Regions from separate parts of the Homo sapiens genome. Here regions 1, 3 and 4 are each linked to region 2. The links are contacts of gene promoters, found by promoter capture Hi-C in human tissues and cell types (Jung and others, 2019). All regions are on one chromosome and are shown on one strand. The core of a region is centred on a gene start or on the middle of the fragment in contact, and the rest is flanking DNA. Distances in the headings are between cores, read along the strand shown.

The links. Contacts are between HindIII fragments. The study calls those that stand out against the background at their distance.
Region 1: a contact is called between a fragment that was not itself captured here and the fragment with the promoter of ERC1 in region 2, in 1 of the 25 tissues and cell types used here (IMR-90 fibroblasts).
Region 3: a fragment that was not itself captured here is called in contact with the fragment with the promoter of ERC1 in region 2 in 2 of the 25 tissues and cell types used here (IMR-90 fibroblasts and lymphoblastoid cells).
Region 4: a fragment that was not itself captured here is called in contact with the fragment with the promoter of ERC1 in region 2 in 1 of the 25 tissues and cell types used here (dorsolateral prefrontal cortex).

The regions. Positions count from the first base shown.
Region 1 is chr12:1,554,251-1,556,950 of GRCh38, forward strand. No RefSeq gene overlaps it. Among named protein-coding and RNA genes, the nearest start is that of FBXL14, 39 kb to the right of the region's middle. RefSeq lists enhancers at 18-87, 148-207, 488-587. The HindIII fragment of the contact is 4,184 bases long and covers 1-2,700 here.
Region 2 is chr12:989,595-992,588 of GRCh38, forward strand. ERC1 (ELKS/RAB6-interacting/CAST family member 1) reads left to right here and starts at 1,629. Exons shown (of 19, transcript NM_178040.4): 1 at 1,629-1,728. It also overlaps a transcript of RAD52 not described here. RefSeq lists enhancers at 460-1,022, 1,584-2,145 and silencers at 844-893, 1,304-1,413, 1,434-1,943, 2,149-2,443. The HindIII fragment of the contact is 12,512 bases long and covers 1-2,994 here.
Region 3 is chr12:476,658-479,357 of GRCh38, forward strand. All of the region lies in intron 1 of B4GALNT3 (beta-1,4-N-acetyl-galactosaminyltransferase 3), which reads left to right. LOC124902853 (a long non-coding RNA gene) reads left to right here. Exons shown (of 2, transcript XR_007063151.1): 2 at 680-968. Among named protein-coding and RNA genes, the nearest start is that of B4GALNT3, 18 kb to the left of the region's middle. The HindIII fragment of the contact is 4,682 bases long and covers 1-2,700 here.
Region 4 is chr12:1,538,082-1,540,790 of GRCh38, forward strand. No RefSeq gene overlaps it. Among named protein-coding and RNA genes, the nearest start is that of LINC00942, 39 kb to the left of the region's middle. The HindIII fragment of the contact is 3,970 bases long and covers 1-2,709 here.

The sequences.
Region 1 (2,700 bases), core at 11-2,510, 560 kb after region 2:
GAGAGGGAAAAACCCTTCCAGGTGAAGGTCGAGTGGAAAGGTAGATAGAGGTGTGGCAGGGAATAAAGGAACAGAGATGGTAGGAGAGATTCCATCCTGGGCAGAGCAGAGAAGCCAGGTGGGGCAGAGGAGCGAAGGAGACCAGCGATCGGGCAGGAGAAAGAGTGGAAGGAAGGTCTTGAAGGAGAAGTGCCAGGAGGTGGACAGGGCCATGCAGCTGCAGGGGCACAGTTCCCATACGACCTCCAGCTGCCCAGTGGTTTTCTGGCAGTCCCTCAGCCAGATGTTTGTATAGTACCCAGGCCAGGTGCTGCCTGGCTCTCAAACATTTGAATAACTGAAACCATCTCAGAGGAGGTTGTATTTTTAGCCAGGGGCTGTGGTAGGCAATAGTTCCAGTCGTCCTGGCTACTAGAGTGGCAGGGAGGCTCTGGTGTCTGAGTAGGCGTTGGATTCTCATTCTGACTTGCCTCTGACAGGCTGAGATGCTGGGAAAGCCCCTCGATCCTTCCAGATCACCTGCCTGAGTGGTGGGGGGGCAGGGGTTGCAGTCTGAGTTTGGTCTCTTTCTGAGGGGGCAATGGTAGAAGTTTCCCTTATGTGGCAATGGGAGGGAAGGGGCCGGTTGGGAGAATCCTTATTTCTCCTTGATGATGGGCATTGGTTCTTAACCCACGGGAACAATTTATCAGCTTCATTGATCCCTAATGGTTCAGGGTAAAACCTGCTACACAAGGTCACAGTCCAAAAAGGACCCATGTCTTTTTTTTTTTTTTTTTTTGAGACGGAGTCTCTCTCTTGTCACCCAGGCTGGAATGCAGTGGTGCGATCTCAGCTCACTGCAACCTCCGCCTCTCTGGTTCAAGCGATTCTCCTGCTTCAGACTCCTGAGTAGCTGGGATTACAGGCACCTACCATCACGCCTGGCTAAGTTTTGTATTTTTACTAGATATGGGGTTTCACCATGCTGGCCAGGCTGGTCTTGAACTTCTGACCTCAGGTGATCCACCTGCCTTGGCCTCCCAAAGTGCTGGGATTACAGGCATGAGCCACCACACCCGGCCTCATATGTCTTTTGACCCCTGGGGTGCTGCTAGCTATCAAACTGGGCAGTCAAATGTGGGATGCATTCCTTTCAATGCTGCCTCGTATCTGCTCATTCACTGAGCAGAAGAAGCTTTATGCTCCAACAGGGACTCACGGACAAAGACCAGTTTTTTCAATTATCAGATAGGTTCACAAACATTATTGTTTTTTAAAAATTTATGGTAAAATGTACTTAACAAAATTTTCCATTTCAACCATTTTTAAGTGTACAGTTCTGTGGCATTGGGCACATTCACACTGCTGTGTAATCATCACCACGTCCATCTCCAAAACTTTTCCATCTTCCCCAACTGAAATTCTGTTCAGAATTAACACTATTGTTTAATTAACATAAAACAATAACTTCCCATCCTTCCTGCCTTCCAGCCCCTGACAACCACTTCTTTCTGTCTGCTTCTACTTTCCTGCGTATGTATGTATGTATTTATTTTTGAGACAGGGTCTTGCTCTGTTACCCAAGTTGGAGTGCAGTGGTGCAACCACAGCTCACTGCAGGCTCAAACTTCTGGGCTTAAGCAGTCCTCCCACCTCAGCCTCCTAAGTAGCTGGGACTACAGGTGTGTGCCACCACACTCTGCTAATTTTTTAGTTTTTATTTTTTGTATAGACAGGGTCTCACCATGTTGACCAGGCTGGTCTCAAACTCCTGGGCTCAAGTGATCCTCCCACCTCAGCCTCCCGAAGTGCTGGATTACAGGCGCGAGCCACCACATCGGGACCTACTTTCTATCTATGAGTTTATCTATTATAAATACCTCTTAGAAGTGGAATTATAAAATATGTCCTTTTGTGTCTGGCTTATTTTGCTTAGCATCTATGTTTCATCCATGGATGAAACTTTTTTTTTTTTGAGACGGAATCTTGCTCTGTCGCCCAGGCTGGAGTCCAGTGGCGCAATCTCGGCTCACTGCAAGCTCTGCTTCCCGGGTTCACGTCATTCTCCTGCCTCAGCCTCCCAAGTAGCTGGGACTACAGGTGCCTGCCCCCACGCCTGGCTAATTTTTTGTATTTTTAGTAGAGACGGGGTTTCACCGTGTTAGTCAGGATGGTCTCGATCTCCTGACCTTGTGATCCACCCGCCTCAGCCTCCCAAAGTGCTGGGATTACAGGCGTGAGCCACCTCGCCTGGCCCATGGATGAAACTTAGCAATATTTCATCCATGTCGTAGCATGCATCAGAATTTCCTTCCTTTTTTAAGGCTGAATAATATTCCATTGCATGTGTATACAACATTTTGTTTATCCCCCAATAGAATATTACTTTTTTATTTTTTAACTTCAATTTTTATTTGTAGTTGACAAATAACAATTGTAAATTTACAGGGTACAATGTGATGTTTCGATATATGTATACCTTGTGGAATGATTATATCAAGCTGACACATCTATCACCTCACATACTTATCCTTTTTTGTAGTGAGTGCATTTAAAATCTATTGTTTTAGCAATTTTGAGATATATAATACATTATTATTAACTGTGGTTGCCATGCTGGGTAATAGATCTTGAAGAATTATTCCTCCTGTCTAACTGGAACTTTCTACCCTTTGGTCAACATCTGTGCATTCCCCACCCCTCACCCCCAGTATCTGG
Region 2 (2,994 bases), core at 379-2,878:
GGACAGTATTTCCGTGTATAACATAGCGCTTAGCAACTTAATTCTCCAGATCCACATATTTTAAGGACATGATGTATCTCAGACACCTACTTCAAACCTCACTTTACAGTTAAGTAAGACCACAAGTAGAATGAATTGCCTGAGGCCACACAAGTAGACAGTGGGAGAATGAGAACAGAAATATCTATTGACTCCTAGTTGAATTTTCTCTTACCTTACCACACTGCTAGGGAGTAACAAGATGGGCAGATCACGAGTCAGATGAGAAAGGTCATGAAAAATAGTCAAAGGATGACTTTTCCTGGGTAAATAGCCGGATGTCCAAGAAATGAAAGGCTGGTCTGGCAGCAGCACATCGTCTAACAGTTGGTAGTCATATGTGGGAAGTACTGAAGGGGGAGATGACAGCAGGCCCAGAAACTGCAATGATCCAAGTGCATGTCGATCCTGGGAGGGAACAGTTAAGAGTCCGGGCAGGATGAAACAGTAGAAACTGGTGAGTGAATGAATGTGAAGGCTGAGGAGCGACTGCAATTTGTTAATGGGATTATGAGGCAGTATAAAGTGGTTAATTACGGTGGCGGAGGTAAGCAGGAGTAAAATGATGGCTTTTAACTCCTCTCAAGGACACCGAAAATTATTTTAATAAACACTGGAAGGCTGGGAATAAATATAATTCACACCATTCTTACTTTCTTGGTTTAGAGATAGCTTATCTACATCCTTAAATTAATGGCTGTAGCTACCCTCTGCATGGCTCCAAAAAAAAAACAAAAAACAAAAAACAAAACCAAAGCCGGCTGCGAGTCTGCACGAGAAAATCGGGTTGCACCAGGCCCCAGCCGCCCGCCGATTCGCTTAGCTGTCGGAGGCTAAATAAACAGCTCCCGAAGCAGCGTTTGGCACAGCGCAGGGTCGGAACGTGGACACTAATTTCCGCCCACGCTCCCCGCGTCCTGGCGGGATCACCACAGACACGACGTCCATTGCTGGGGTCCTCGGCGATGCCCGTGTGCGCAGCCCCGCGAGTCTCAGGTCAGAAGACCACTAATTTCGCGGCCGCGTTCCACGAAGCTAAGGGGCAAAAAACCAGCTTTCTTGGGACAAAGCGTCCCCCCAGCAGCCAGGGTCGATCCCGGCGCTGCTCCCGCGGCGCTTGGCTGCCCCGGGCGTAACGGGCCACGAGAAGTAGGGGGTGGGGCGCCGCTTAGGTTTGGGAAGACACGAAGCGGCTCCTCGGGCTTCCAGCGTCCACTTCCTACGGCAAGCAGGAGGAGACAAGCGCCACCCTGCGCTCGCGGAGCCGACCCCGGCTCTCCCCTCCCGTGGCCGCAGGGGTCGTGTGTGTGTGTGTGTGAGTGTGTGTGTGTGTGCAGGGACGCTCCGCGCCCATCACTCTGTTTCGGTGCTAATCGACCGCCGTGGCGCCGATTTCCCCCGCTTCCCAGTTCCTCACCCGCGTGCCCCGGAAGGCGCCCGGAGGCCCCCGGGCCGCCGCGTCACGCTCCCGGGAGGCTGAGGGAAAGGGAGGCAGCCGAGCCGGGAGCCCGGGGAGGCGCGCTGCGCCCCGCGGCGGGGCTGGGGGCGGGGCTAGGTGTCTCGCGCAGGGGGCGGGGCGCGGTGACGTCGCGGGCGCCTGGGCCGTGCTGTGGCGGCGGCGGCGGCGGTAGTGGCGGCGGCGGCGGTGCCTGGGCGGCAGCAGCAGCAGTAGCGGCAGCCCTGAGGACGGTGAGACGGCCGCGGCGGCGGCGACAGCGCGGAAGTCGCGCGGGACCCAGAGCTTCCCCCCTGTCGCTAGTGCTGAGGCTTTCGCCTTTCCTACCCAGCTTCTTGCTCACGGCCCGGGCTGGGCTGGGCAGGGCAACGCGCCCCCGGGGAGGGGCGGAGCTGTAGGTGAGGCTTCGCGACCCCCTCCCCCTCCTCGGCAGCCCGGGGGGTGGGGAGGGGCGGGCCCCACCCAGACCACCGGCGCCCACCCGCGGGCTCCACCCAGCCGGGCTCCGGGATCGGGCGGGAGCCGAGGCGGTAGATGTGGGGATCCTGGGGCGGGAGGTGGGGGAGTGGGGACTGGGGCTCTGGGCACTTGGGGAGCGGAGGGGGGGAGGCTTAGGACTAGTGAAGCCGCGGACGAGGTAGTGGGGAGACGGAGAAATTGGGGAGCCATGAGGTTGGGGTGCGGTCAGGGTGGATCTTTGGGTTAGGTGAGTGATGTAAAATGCTGAAGATGATTCTTTTCTTTTCGATGAAATGGTGAGATAAAAGATGAAGTGTATTTCAAAAGGACGATGAGCTGTGCATGTTGCCTTTGAGGCAGTTGCAGAACCTATTTTATTGCACTAGATCTCACGTTTCTACTTTAGGGTTCGATTCTTTTTCTTCTGGCGGGGTGGGTGGGGGGTCGGAGAGGGAAGAGAATCCCCTTACTTTGGCTCAGGTAAATTGTGAGCGTGGATGTATCTGAAAGTTTTACACCGAAGAAGAGGGAGATCTTCGGTTTAGACAACTTCGTTCCGGCAGCCACCATTTGGGTCGCATTACGCTTAGCTCCTTCAAGGTGGTGTCTTCCAGTTTTTTTTCCCCCCAATGCCTAAAAGATCTCTTTATACCACCCTTTTACAGGCTTTATCCTGGCCCCTTGAGAGAAGGCCCCAAACTCAGGTGGTTGCTTTGGAAGGCACATTGCTGAATAATAGTTGCAGGTGGTTGTGGTTGACTGCTTTGGGTGGATAAAGTGAACAATTGGAATAGTTCTGTTGGAGCTAATTATATGAAAAATGCTTAAATGTTTTAAAGTACAACCGTCTTTTATAGCGTGTTGCTTGCTCAGTACACCTTGACTTTTAGACATTTTGTGTTCAGTGCTAAATTGTTGAAATTTTATTTCTCATTTGCAGTTATGTTTCTTGCAGTCTTTATTAAAACACTTTAAAATGAAATGGAACTCTTTTTTTTTGGTAGGCTCCTCAATTTCTGAGAAATGTTCTTGGAGTCAAG
Region 3 (2,700 bases), core at 115-2,614, 510 kb before region 2:
GAATGTTGATTTGAAGATACATGCAGTAGATGTTAGGCGCCATTGTTTATTATAACTTAATCAGCTTTTCAATACCCTCTGTCCCTGTTTTGATTGGTTTTAGCATGCTGACTTTCACATATCAAAGAATCCTAGGACAGGGTGGACCCCAGGGGTGCAGACATGGAAGAAAACCAAAAGCAAAGCAGAAGTCCAGAGATTTTAAATTCTGAAATGGATTATATCTGCATTTCTTCTTCTAGGCCCATGGCAGACATCTCCAATAGAACATGAAATTCTTTTACCGAGCTCAGCTGCAGCCTCAGAATTTTCTCAACATTTCTCACCAGGCAGTCACTACAAATTGACTTGAGCTGCCCCTTAAAAAGGTTATCTATTTACCCAGCCTCCTGATTTTACCAGTGAAGAATTGAAAGCCTGGAGAGCTTTAATCAACCTGCCCATATAGCAGTTTATAGGACTCCTGGTGCCTAGACTATTGTTTACAACACACCATGCCACTCACCCTCTGCCTTCGCTCATTCCCTTTTTGTTTGCTGAGGATGCCTCCTTTTAACATCTGAGTTTCACGAGGTCAGGGAAGATCCTTTCTTTTTCTAACTGCCCTAACAATCTGGTAGTATATTGTGCCTGCATATAGACCAACCTCAAGTCTATTGATCTATTTTTTTCTTACCAGTGAACTAGCTGAAGTTATTGCCACTCAGTTGGGGGTGGATCATGCATGTTCCCAACTCAGCTGCCTTTAGGGGTGATCCATGCACTGACACCCTGCATTGACATTGATATTGGAGAGTAACCTGCAAAGAAGTTATTGTTGATGTTGAATTGAATTTTCACATTGCACGAGAAAGGCCAAGGCTCGACATTCTTCATCCAACAGGTTCCTTTGTTGCACACTCCCGTCCTGAGAAACGGAACCCATTCCAGTGTACAGCTTCTTAAATAAAAGGCAAATGGAGTCATGATTTCCTCTCTCACTTTCTTGAATCGAGAAGGGATGGGAAATAATGAATAGATGAAGTTGATTTTAGATCAGAAGAATCCTGGAACACATGAATGATGAAGCCCTTTGGTAGACAGATTCATGATGTATTTAAAACATTGCTGTCTTATCCGTTATTCTTCTCTCTGTGTAGAAATATACAAGTTGATGAGGGCAGATATTTTCATAATCCTAGTTCTGTTTAGCAAATGGAAGTCCATTACTGGCAGTGTGAGGGTAAAAAGTGAAATGGGTAACAGATTAAAGAAAAGTGGCAGAGAGGTAGCAACAAATAGGTTCAGAACATGTTTGGAAGATTATAGAGGGGGCACAATGGTTCAGAATGCCTGCAATCCTGGCACTTTCAGAGGCTGCTGTGGGCATATTGCTTGCACCTAGGAGTTTTAGAGCAGCCTGGGCAACATGGCAAGACCCCATCTCTACAAAAAATTTAAAAGTTAGCCAGGCATGGTGGCCCAACCCTGTAGTCCCAGCTACTTGGGAGGCTGAGGTGGGAGGATCGCATGAGCCCAGGAGATCAAGGCTGCAGTGAGCTGTGTTCGCACTACTGCACTCCAGCCTGGGTGGCAGAGTGACACTCTGTCTTTAAAAAAAAAAAAAAAAAAAAAATTAGAGGAGGTAAAAAAAAAAAAAATATTCAAGCCTGATTTAGCTTGTTGAATGAGAATTCAATTTTGCTTTGATGCATGAAAATTGAAAAAATATTTGCATAAAGAAAATTCTCCAGTAGTAAAGCTTTAATTAGGTTGCTTAGGAAATACCACCTGTCTGTTTTAGGGAAGTATTTATTGATTGAAGCAAGAGCTATCAAATTGGAAGTCAACATTTACCATTTTGAGAAAAAGAAATGGGCAAAAACTACCCAAGGTACTTGTTAATACAAAAAAGAATAGGGAAGTTCAGTTTCTGGGATATAGAAATTGGTTGTGATATTTTCAGTGATGATTCTTCTAGCAGCTTTTTCAACAGGAAAAAAAATCCTTAAGAAAGGGTTTTTCTATCTTTTTCTGATCCTTTGTATCTCTAAGAAGGTTGGGAAAGTTCCAGGGTGGTGAACACTTTCTCCAGCCGGCAGGGTTTTCACGAACCAATCTTGGGAAGGAAGGGGTGGAAGGGCAGGCAAACAACAGTACCCTGTTTTTACATAGAACCTTTCTCCTGGGAAGTCACAGCTGTGGTTACCTTCAGGATCAGAGGTTGCTACTGCTCTTCTCCCTGAAGGAAGTTTGGTCCTTTTCCACCCATCTGGGAAGGTGTCCTTATGGACAATGGAAGTGGAAAATGACACCCACCTAGCGTGATGAATCCTGGAGTTCGCTGGGAAGACAGAGGTTACAGCCTCCTTTATAGAGAGGGGAAACTAAGGCAAGAGGAAGCTGGCACAGACAAACCTATTAAGTCCTGAAGGAATCAAGGCTTCTGACTCAGCTCCAGGTAGGGGATGTAGCAGAGTTCAGAAGCTCAGCAGGCCACAGGAGACAGCCTAGAGTCTCTCTGCAGTGACCTGACTCTTGGTGAAGGTATTTTGTTTCATGGCTGTGGCTTTTTTTTTATTATTATTTAAATGAAGCAGGGTCTCACCATGTTGCCCAGGTTGGTGTCAAACTCCTGGGCTCAAGCCATCATCCGACCTCAGCCGCCAGAGTAGCTGGGTTACAAGCACGTGCCACCGTGTTCAGTGATGGCTGTGGCTT
Region 4 (2,709 bases), core at 160-2,659, 550 kb after region 2:
AGAGTGTTAACAGTGGGAACAGGCTGAGCGTGGTGGCTCATTCCTGTAATCTCAGTGCTTTGGGAGGGATGGCTTGAGGCCAGGAGTTCTAGACCAGCCTGAGCAACATAACAAGACACCCATCTCTACAAAAAATTTTAAAAAGTATCTGGGTGTGGTGGTGAACACCTGTAGTCCCAGCTACTTGGGAGGCTGAGGTGGGAGCATCCCTTGACCCTGGGAGGTTGAGGCTGCAGTGAGCTATGACTGTGCTGCTGCACTCCAGCCTGGGTGACAGAGGGAGACCTTGTCTGAAAACAAGCAAACAAAATCGTAGGTTCTTCCTCTGCTCCGTTGCTCCCTCCCCATCTTGGCCTCCTTTGCCATACCATAGAGGTGGGGCAGCTGGCGAGAACATGTGGCCCTGGGATATGCCTGTTTTATCAGAACTGATGAAAGTATAACATGTTCACTGAAAAACATTGACTTTTTTTCATTTTTTAATTCATTCATATTTTCATTGAAAATATGAAGAAAATGATGATTTTGAGTTATCATTGGTAGGATTTTGGTGCATTCCTTTTCGGTTTTTTCTGCCTGTGTGTACAAGCACACATGTATTTACAGGCTCAGGTGTGTGTTTCCACACATGCGCGTCTCCTCCGGACAGGTGGTGACACCTTGAGGGCCAGCACCGTGCCTGTTCTCCTCCTCTCCAGCTCCTCTCTTGAGCCTGGCGTGGATCGGGTGCACACAGTGGTAGATCACAGGGATGGCTGGACAAGTGCGTGATCTGTTTCCTGGTGAGCACCTGGAGTCCATGCAGAGCCAGTCCCTGTGATTTCTTTGCCTTTTTGGTTGATGAGCTGCTGGGTAAGGGCAATGTCTTCACCACTTTTGTTTCCTTAAGGTTGTTCAAGAGTCAGGTTTCTCAGCCCCGACACCATGGATATTTTGGACCCAATAATTCTTTGTTGAAGAGGGCTGCTCCATGTATTGTAGGATGTCTGAGAACACACCTGGCCCCTACCCACACGATGCCAGTAGCACCCCACTCCGAAGGATGACAACCAAAAATGTCTCTGGACATTGCCAAATGTCCCGTGGGGAGAGCGGGAGGGAGCAGAGTCACCCTGGGAGACGACCGCTGTTCCAAAATGCCTCTGTTTTTTTCCTGACAGTCTTCCCTTGTTTTTGTTTCTCCTAAATCCTGTGGATTTATTATCCGTTTTACATCCTATTTCCATGCTACTGCCGAGGGCAGGCCGTTGGGGAGCTGATGTGAATTATGGCAGCAGCTTTCTCACTAGCTGTTTGTCCCTGGGCCCACCCTCACAAGGCCATCTCTCCCGCTGCTCCCAGGTGGACCATGCCGCTACCCTCTTCACCCATGAACGGCCACCCTGCTGATTAAACAGGTCCTCAAGTTGAACGAGGTGTCCTGTAGCAGAAGAGGTTTTGGTATTTACTGTGTAGTTGGGGTATCAGCCTTCCTTGGCTAGTCTGGCGGTGATTTTCAAGCTTTTACAAGTCTTTGCGAGCCCGTGCTTTCCGTCCTGTCCGGTGGAAAGCGCATGGCCTTGAGGCTCAGGGGGACTTCGGTTTAAACTAACTCAGCTGTTCAAGCCTAATTGGCTTGCCTTGCCCATTTAGGTTTTCTGAACTCCAGTTTCTTCACTGTTTAAACAGGGATAATAATGCCCAACTCCTAAGGTCATTTTTGAGAATGAAATGTGATAATTTTGTGAATTAGGGCAATGCCTAACATGTATCATGTACTTAGTCAATGTTAGGTCCCACTTTAACACTTCATTGAAAAAAAGTAAAAGTGTCAAGAAATTGACACCTAGATTCTGAAATACCTTGTCGGAATTTAGGCAGAAGATCAGAGTGTTTTATAATTTGGTTTATTTTGATGATTGAGGAGACAAAGGAGACCTGAGAATTCACTTCCATGACAGCTGCTTTTACCGAAGACCTGTTGAGAGGTCTGCAGCTCCAGGCTCTTGGACTTTTCCTGGACAGTCCTCCCAACCAAGAGGTGGGTTCCTGGATGGCAGGAGTGATGTCCTCCTTGTCTGGGCTCCTCTCTCCTCACTGATAATCCCACCACTCGGCGTTGCTGCTGCTCAGCCATATTGACACGTTAATGAGCTAGTGACTTCTAAACAGGTTATCCTCCCCGGTTCAAGAAATCCAGCCATAATTACCATGTTTCATCGATATTAAGATGCATTTCAACATATCTGAGGTCAGAATGCATCTCAGAATCAATATTGTATGACAGTTTGATGACAAGTACTTTTCTTTCTTGGTGGTACAAAATAATGGTGCATTCTAGAATCAGTAGCATCTTAGGTTTGGTGAAATAAGGTAATTGATCACTGTTTACTAAGGGGACCTGTTGTCATTTCCTGGTGCCTAACTTGGTGTTCACTTGGAAATGCACTTTTGTATTTTGCCAAACAGAATATTTGTTTCCTGTCACCTTCAAGTTGAACATCTATTAACCATGTTAAAATTGAGAGAGGAAATTCTAGGCAAAAACTGGACGTCCCATGGACCCTGGACCCTGATGCTTGAGCCTGCTGGGCTGCTCGTGGCCACCTGGGAATCAGCAGTCCAGGATTTCTGCCCTTGCATTGCTGAGAATCTTGAGCAAATGTGCTCATCACTGCCAGTCTCCCTCTTCTCATTGGTACATGGAGTCACAGTGTAACCCCTTCCTAT